2 separate regions of the Homo sapiens genome follow, and region 2 is linked to region 1. The links are contacts of gene promoters, found by promoter capture Hi-C in blood cells and fetal thymus (Javierre and others, 2016). All regions are on one chromosome and are shown on one strand. The core of a region is centred on a gene start or on the middle of the fragment in contact, and the rest is flanking DNA. Distances in the headings are between cores, read along the strand shown. Region 1 holds the start of COMMD2 (COMM domain containing 2). Region 2 has its middle 8.9 kb from the start of TM4SF18.

What was found. Contacts are between HindIII fragments. The CHiCAGO score rates a contact against its expected background, and 5 or more counts as called.
Region 2: a fragment that was not itself captured here is called in contact with the fragment with the promoter of COMMD2 in region 1 in 1 of 17 cell types (M2 macrophages); the score reaches 6.3 in M2 macrophages.

The regions. Positions count from the first base shown.
Region 1 is chr3:149,751,239-149,755,341 of GRCh38, forward strand. It overlaps COMMD2 (COMM domain containing 2), which reads right to left and starts at 1,251. Exons shown (of 5, transcript NM_016094.4): 1 at 1,140-1,251; 2 at 972-1,049; 3 at 165-247. The coding sequence starts at 1,206. RefSeq lists a silencer at 1,407-1,476. The HindIII fragment of the contact is 1,089 bases long and covers 779-1,867 here.
Region 2 is chr3:149,340,500-149,344,602 of GRCh38, forward strand. No RefSeq gene overlaps it. Among named protein-coding and RNA genes, the nearest start is that of TM4SF18, 8.9 kb to the left of the region's middle. RefSeq lists an enhancer at 1-209. The HindIII fragment of the contact is 1,872 bases long and covers 955-2,826 here.

The DNA.
Region 1 (4,103 bases), core at 1-2,500:
AGATGATATGATTTTTATTTTTTAGGTATGTCTTCAAAAAATCAATTATAAACCATTAACAACATTATTAAAACACACAGGTACCTGCCAGGACTATGATGTAGAGTACACCAGACCGTTCTTAAGAATCCAGCCAACACAAAACAGTCCAGAAAATCCCTTACCATGAGCTTTGAGCTCTCAGTGAGGAGATACGTTAATCCTTCCACACCATGCTGGACAGTGTCACTACTCACATTGAGTTTTCCTGAGAAAGAAAAGTAAAAACGAGCAAATAAATTACTACTGTAGTATTTATCTTGTTCATATTTGTATTTAAAAATAAACACTATTCATTATTACATGTTTTCAAACACTGCATGAAAAACAGTAAGTTGGCCAGAGGCTCCTGCTCCTTGTCATTCCACTCCCAGCCAAATGCCTTTGGTATTTCCCACCAAGTAACCTTAACAAAATGCAGAACTGTGGAGACTAGTATCAGGTGCGTAGCCCTTCTCTTGAATACGTAGCTCCTTCAAGTCTGGCAGAAGAGGAACTCGACAGGGATTGACTTAATCCCAGAGACTGCCTCTTACCCAGGGGTAAAACAACACTTTTTTTTTTTTTTTTAGCAAAAGCGGATATCTGAACAACTAATAATGATAACCAAATACTTGCAATTTACAGTTGACCCAGCTATTCCACAGACTTTGGTATATTTATACAAAACACTTTTCAGTATTTCTGAAAGTAAGGTGGTATTATGTACATTTTACCATGAGAAAACTGATTTAATAGAAGCTTTAACAATCTCACAGCTACTTAAGGGACGGGCAGGATTTGCACCCTGACTGAAGAGCTCTGCTGGTTTTATTCTACTACAATCGGAACAAGACCCTAGGACTCGCAATAATCCGTTTCTCTCCCGGGAGACAGGGAATGGCTCGCAACCGCCCTAGAAGCCTGCGGAGCCTTCCCCTTTCCCTTCTTACTGGCGGCGCCTTCGTAGATTTTTGGGTTTGCGCCGCGTCTCAGGAATTCCACAGCAATCCGCCCAAACTCGGCGACCACTGCAATGAAAGTCAGAAGGCTGTTGAGTGCCAGGCGCTGCCTTTGACCTCCTCCCCAGCCCACAGAACACCGCCCCCACGCCCGCTGACCCGCGCTGTCCACTTGAGGCAGGAAGGCCAGGTGTTCCTTATGCTCCTCGGACAATTCCAGCAGCATCTTCACTGTCCTACGATTTCACCCGGCAGCGCCGACCCCGCCTTCGCCACTTCCGGCGCCCGTGTCCCGGCGCCTAGAGGCTCCGGCGTCGCAGCGTCCGGAGCTTTGGGTTCCGGCCTACGAACTAACGCGTTACACTCGGACGTTCCCTGCAGCGCAGGCTGAGGTCAGAACATTGAAATCATCCCGCAAAGATGCAGTGAGCGCCTGCTGGGTGCAAGGTGCTAGGCTCTATGGGAGATGAAAAGGTGTTTCAAATCCGACACGCCCCCTCGTGGAGCATACATTAATAATATCAATAGTTCACATTTGTTAAGCACTAACCGTGTCAGGAAGTGTTCTTACATTTATTAAATACATTTGGAGTTCAGAAGAACCCTATGAGGTAGGTTCCATTATAATTTCCATTAGAGATAAGGAAACTGATAGACAAGTCCAGCAACTGACACTTTTATAAAGCTAATAGTTTCCAGAGCTTCTATGTTATCTTAAATGTATCTCAGTTAATATCCTCAACAAACATGGCTTTGTTTTTACAGATAAGACACAAAGCTCCAGAGATTATGTGACAAAGCCTGTGACAGAGTTAGATGGAGAGGGTTGGATCCCTCACTTACCTGCTGCAAAGCCCATCCTTCTACATAACAGCCTGAAAGCTGAAAGCTTCTGACAAGTTTTATGAGTGATTATAAATTAGGATAAAGATAATGATGACAATGACCGATGCTTACAGGATTCAGAGCAATGTTTTTGTTTGTTTGTTTTGTTTTGTTTTGTTTTTTACATGGAGTCTCGCTCTGTCGCCCGGCTCACTGCAACCTCTGCCTCCCGGGTTCAAGCGATTCTCCTGCCTCAGCCTCCCGAGTAGCTGGTATTACAAGCGCCCACCACCATGCCTGGCTAATGTTTGTATTTTTAGTAGAGACGGGTTTTCACCATGTTGGCCAGGCTGGTCTTGAACTCCTGACCTCAAGTCATCCAGCCAACTTGGCCTCCCAAAGTGCTGGGATTACAAGCATGAACCACCACACCTGGCCCAGAGCAATGCCTTTTAAAAAGTATTTAGCGCCTGTGATAATTTAGTTCCTTTTCCAACTCTCTTCTCACCTGCTGTGGTTCAAATATCAGAGATGATAAAGTTGCTAATTGATAGGAATATGATTCTTCAAATCTTAACCCCTTGAAAATGGAGGGTGTGGAGGAAGAGAGGGGAAGGGAAGAAGACTCTTCATATCTGTCTTTTCTATCTAAGGCTTGAGACAACTCTATATTCTGAGTCTCCCAGGCAGACTAAAAATTGGAAGAGTTTTTCAATTCACTTCTCTGTGTCTACTTTGTCCTTCACATCTGACTGAAATTGTTTCTTCCACTGGGACACAGAAAGACAGGTCCTTGAACTTATTAGTTAGTTCTTGAAGTAGCATTTGCAGAGAGAACACAACTTTTACTTAGACTGTGAATTGCAGATTAGCAAAAATTGCATCATTTCCTGAAGTTGCCTTTATTCACACATTATTGAGAAAACATCCATTATTAAAGAATAATTTTCAGAAAAGGTAAAATCATGATTCTTCTACAAGTGTACAATGAACACATGTCAAAAAATGTATTGAACTAGTTAATTAATGAGAGAATTACAGCATTCTGTAATTAATGAGAGATTACAGTAAAAACCAGTTTCAACTGATTCAAAAGAGGTATTCAAGAACTGTACATATATAGGGAGTAGGAATGCTGAAATGAATTTGCAAATAGACACAATATTATGCCAATATGAAATGGCCTTTCTTGTCTGTAATCTCAGGGAATGAAGTGAGGACAGGCGAGGTGAAGGTGAGACTAGGGAGTAGCACAATAGGCTGTCTAAAAAAGGTGGTCAAGGAACCAAGTTAGGCCAGGTATGGTGGCTGATGCCTGTAAACCCAGCACTTTGGAAGGCCAAGGCGGGAGGATCACTTGAGGCCAGAAATTCAAGTCTAGCCTGACCAACATGGTAAAACCCCATCTCTACTAAAAATACAAAAATTAGCAAAGCTTGGTGGCATGTACCTGTGGTCCCAGCTACTTGGTAGCCCAAGGCATGAAAATTGCTTGAACCTGCGAGGCAGAGGTTGCAGTGAGCAAGATTTGAGTCACTGCACTCCAGCCTGGGTGACAGAGTCAGACACTGTCAAAAAAAAAAAAAAGAAAGAAACCAAGTTATATCCAAGAAAAACCAGCCTGGGAGTTAAAACACCCCAGGATAATTTATAGAGTGACTTCTGTTGCCATAAGTGATATAATTGTTTAGAAAAAATTACCTGAGTGAAAATTCAAAACTCTAGATTCCAGATCTGGCTCTGACACTACCTGTATGACTTCTAATAAGTTGTTTTTATGTTATAACCATAGCCTCTTCGTCTGTAAAACTGGCATTTTAATACTGCCCTTCTGTGCCATGCAGGGCTGTTATGATGCTCAGATGAACTAATAAATTCACATTAAAAATTGATTTTGATGATCAAATGAAACAATAAATTAGAATTAAGCAAACAGCAGCATTTACATTTTATAGGAGCAGATTTTATGCTCCTATAAATTCACAAATAATCATCTTAAAAGCCATTCATTTAATTTAACAAACTTTATTAAGCAATTCCTTAAAGGTTCAAAGATATGCTATGCTTTGGCAATTTGTAGATGAATAAAACAATGTCCTTGCCCTCTAGGAGGTGTCAGAAAAGTGAGGGAGAAAGATAATGAAGTAATTTCCATACAGTGTGATGAGTAGCAATACTTGGAGAATGAACAAAATGAGAAGGAAGCATAGGGAATGTACATTAACTCTAATTTAAAAGAATCAGGCTGAGAATAAATGTCCCAGCATATCCTGTGCATGTTAATACTAATGCTCTACA
Region 2 (4,103 bases), core at 641-3,140, 410 kb before region 1:
CTGTTTTGATGCAGTTTTCCTGACTGTTGTGTTTATAATCCTTTCTCTAGAATTATCTGGCCAAAATGTCCATAGTGCCAATAAATTCCAGGTTTATCTCTAACTAATGATAAACATTAAGCTCTTTCCCTACTGAGACAGGGAGAAGAGTATTCCTGTTTCTATTCAAAGTTCCCCAAAGCAGCTTTCTGTATTTGAAATGTCCTCTCAGACCATTGTTGAACCTCCCTTTACTCCCTTCTGACTGGCTCCCAGCCTCCTAGAATTAATTTATTTATTCAAGCTCTTCATAGTAGGGGAGGAAGGAACTGTATTCAGTCATTTATTCTTAAAACGTGTATTGAACATTTACATGATGACACATGATGACTGAGGCAAAGAACACCCATTCCTTCAAAATGCTCAGAGTCTAGTTGAGGAAATAAAAAAGTTAAACAACAAATTCGTAATACAAAATGTTGAATATCCAGTAGATTTAACCATAGGCTTTTTGAAAGACACAGGAACCTTGAATGGAGCTGGAGTTCAAGTGAGATTTCTTGGAAGTCTGGAGGACAAAACTGAGTCTTCAAGGTTAAGATGCAAGTATCTAGGTAAACTGAGCCTCAATCAAAGCTAAATGTTGCCAGGTGTGGTGGCTCATTCCTGTAATCTCAACACTTCAGGAGACTGAGGCAGGAGGATCACTTGAGCCCAGGAGTTAGAGACCAGCCTGAACAACATAGCAAGACCTCGTCTCTGCATAAAATTTTTTAAAAATTAGCCAGGCATGGTGGCACATGTCTGTAGTCCCAACTATTTGGGAGGCTGAGGTGAGAAGATCGCTTGAGCCTGGGAGAATGAGGCTGCAGTGAGCCGTGATTGTGCCACTGTATTTCAACCAGGGTGACAGAGTGAGATCCTGTTACAAAAAAAAAAAAGCTAGATATTCACTGGTAGATAAATGCAGTGTGAAGCTTGATTGGATATTGGTTTGGCAAAACATGGTGAGACACATTTTGGGGATGATTGGAAAAATACGAATGTATGAATGTAGACCGTATTAGACAATATTAGAAGGTTGTTATTAACTTGGATGTAATGATGGTGTTATGAAGGAGTTGCTCTAAATTTTTGGAGATGCATATGTCTTCCTCCCTGAAATGGTTTAGCAAAAGAATAAGGAGAAGGAGGAGGAAGAGGAGGAGAAGAATGGTAGATAGATAAATGAAGCAAATGTGACAAAATATTAACAATTGTTGGACTTAAATCTGAATGTTCATTGTACTAGTTTTTCCACTTTCCTGAAATTTTTGTAAAAAGTAGTTGCAAAAGAATACCCTAGTAGACACTCAGTTACATGCTCAGACTCTAGAATTGTGAGAAATAAATTTTTGTTGTTTGTAAATTAGTGGGTTTAAAATATTTCATTATAGCAACTTGAATGGAGGCAGAGGCTAATTTGGCACAAATATTATTAACTTTAAATGTGTATAACTTTAAAAACTGTAAAGGATTCTCAATAAAAAATTTGTGTTCTAGGATCACACAGAGTTAAGTTTCTCTGTGTCTATATAGGCATGGGCATGCCTGTCTCGAAGCACTTCCTTGGGATATATTTTTCATTGATTTTATATGTTCTTTAAACAATTAAAATGTATAAAAATGATTTCTTAATTCTAATCAATAAAAAATACTAGACATCCATCTTTTATAAATGAGGAACACCTATAATATGGTGGTGGCACTGAACGCGGAGATAATTTAAGAGTAGAATCTTTTCCAGGAATAATTTTTCAGATAAGATATGTTTGCACATGGGCATACAAACCTATCAAATAAGAATTCTACTGTGGAAAGAAAGGACTGGAAATCTATCTCTCCATCCATAGAAAACTGGTGAAATAGATTATGGAATTATTTATGCAATGAATTACTATACGATTGTTAAAAATGAGATAAATATATTTTTGCTGATATGCAATGATGGCTAAGTTTAAAAACAAACAAACAAACATGTGACTGGGCACAGTGGCTGACACCTGTAATCCTAGCACTTTGGGAGACCAAAGCGGGAGGATCACTTGAGTCCAAAAGTTTGAGACCAGCCTGGGCAACATAACCAGACCCTGACTCTACAAAAGATTTAAAAATTAGCTGTCCATGGTGGCACACACCTGTAGTCCCAGCTACTCAGAAGACTGAGGCAAGAGGATGGCTTGAGCCCAGGAGTTCGAGGTTATAATGACAAAAAGAGACTCTATTTTCAAAAAAAAGAAAAAGACTGTATATAAAGTGTTCCCATTACATAACAAAAGCATGTGTATACACACATACACTTGCATAAGCATAAAAGATCTCTGGAAGACTACAACAGGAAGCTGCTGCATTAGTCAGGAGCCATTCAGGGGACAGAAACCACAAGTAATTTGAATACAGAAGGTTTAATATGAAGAATGATTATTTACAGGGAATTACTAAAGAGGAACACTAAGAGAACTCTGAAGAATACCTTTGGGCTGACAAAGAGTACCCGAGGAAGAAATGAGCTTGGAAGGGGTGCCCCTCAAGGTTGGATCCAGACTTCCTGGGAGAGGGTGCAGCCCTCTGGGTGTGCATTTTGCTGGATTGCTCCAGGTCAGAGCTGATCCACAGTTGACAGGTTGGGAGTCATAAGCCAGGGCTGGCAAGGTGGAAATTCCCCCAGTGGGAAACCAGCAGGCTGAGGCTGGCAGGCAAGAAATCAATGGCTGAGGGGTGCTGACAAAATTCATGGGGAAACTGCCCATGGGGAGTGCTGTTGAACTTGTGGGAAACTGGTTGGGCCATGGTGGGGACACACTGGAAAGCTTCCAGGATGCTGCTGCAGGACCATTGAGGAACTGGCCACAGGGAAACCAGCTGGGGCACCCATGAAACTTGTTGGCGTGAGCTCCATCACTGCGTCGCTCACATACCAGCCCAGCACCACAGAAGCAAGAGCAGAAAGTCTACAAGAATCAGGAAGGAAGATAATCCCCTTTTTCTTCCAGAGTCCCTCCAGGTCTTCTACTGGCAAAACTTAACACTGTGTCAGCTGGCAAAGGAAAGATGTTTCAGTATCTCAAGCAGAGAAAGGAAGGGTGCATTTGGCACAGAAAGGCAATAGGTTCATAAATGCCACAGCTGGTAACAGTCGTATCTAGGGAGAAAAACTGGATGAGGAGGCTCAGATGTGAGACAGAAACTTACTTTTCACTGTAAATCTTTGTACTGCTTGATTTGTGGGAAAAACATTGAGAAATTTCCTTACTGCATCAAGTATGAGTTTCATACTTCAGAATAATAATGATGCTGCTGATAGTAAATGACAGCCATTGTTAAATGCTTTTGCTATATTAACTTACCAAATCTTCTTTGTGAGTTACGACTATTAGACCTAATTTTTACGCAGGAAGAAATCGAGGCACAAAGAGGTGAAATAACTTGCCAAAGCTTCGCTAGCAAGCGGCTGAGCTATAACTATGATAATCTGGCTGCAGAATCTGTGCTCTTGACCACTACACTGTACTAATTTACTGTATCTATCAGGGTTTACTGCGACATAAAACACAACAAATGAATGGAGTGATAGTCATTAACACTATTCATCAGATATCTCCAAATCATTGACTCCCCCTAGGGGTGAATTGGGTCATGTGATTAATGAGCTGTATGTTGTCATTTCCAGTCAAGCATTTTAATTGCGAGAGACTCTCCATGGCTGGTTTTTTTGTCTTGCATGGAGAATGGCAATGTTAGAGATGACTCTACAATTGTAGTATGATGAACAGACTTTCTATATTGACTGTAATGGGCATATCACATGAGAAAGAAGTAAACCTCTGATTTTCTAAGCCCTTGCTATTTTGATGCTGCTGCTTACTGAAGCATAATCTAGCTCATTTTACCGATATAAATGATGTGTTCCTGATTAGAGTTAAAGAGAAAAACACATGTTTTTAAAAATTCCAAAAGAGTAAATATAGTACTTTATTCTAAAATGTTTCTCCTAAAAATTTTGAACTTAGAAAAACTGAAGGAATACAATGATCACTGTTTATCTTTCAACTAGATTCATCAATTGCTCATTTTTTATCCTCTTT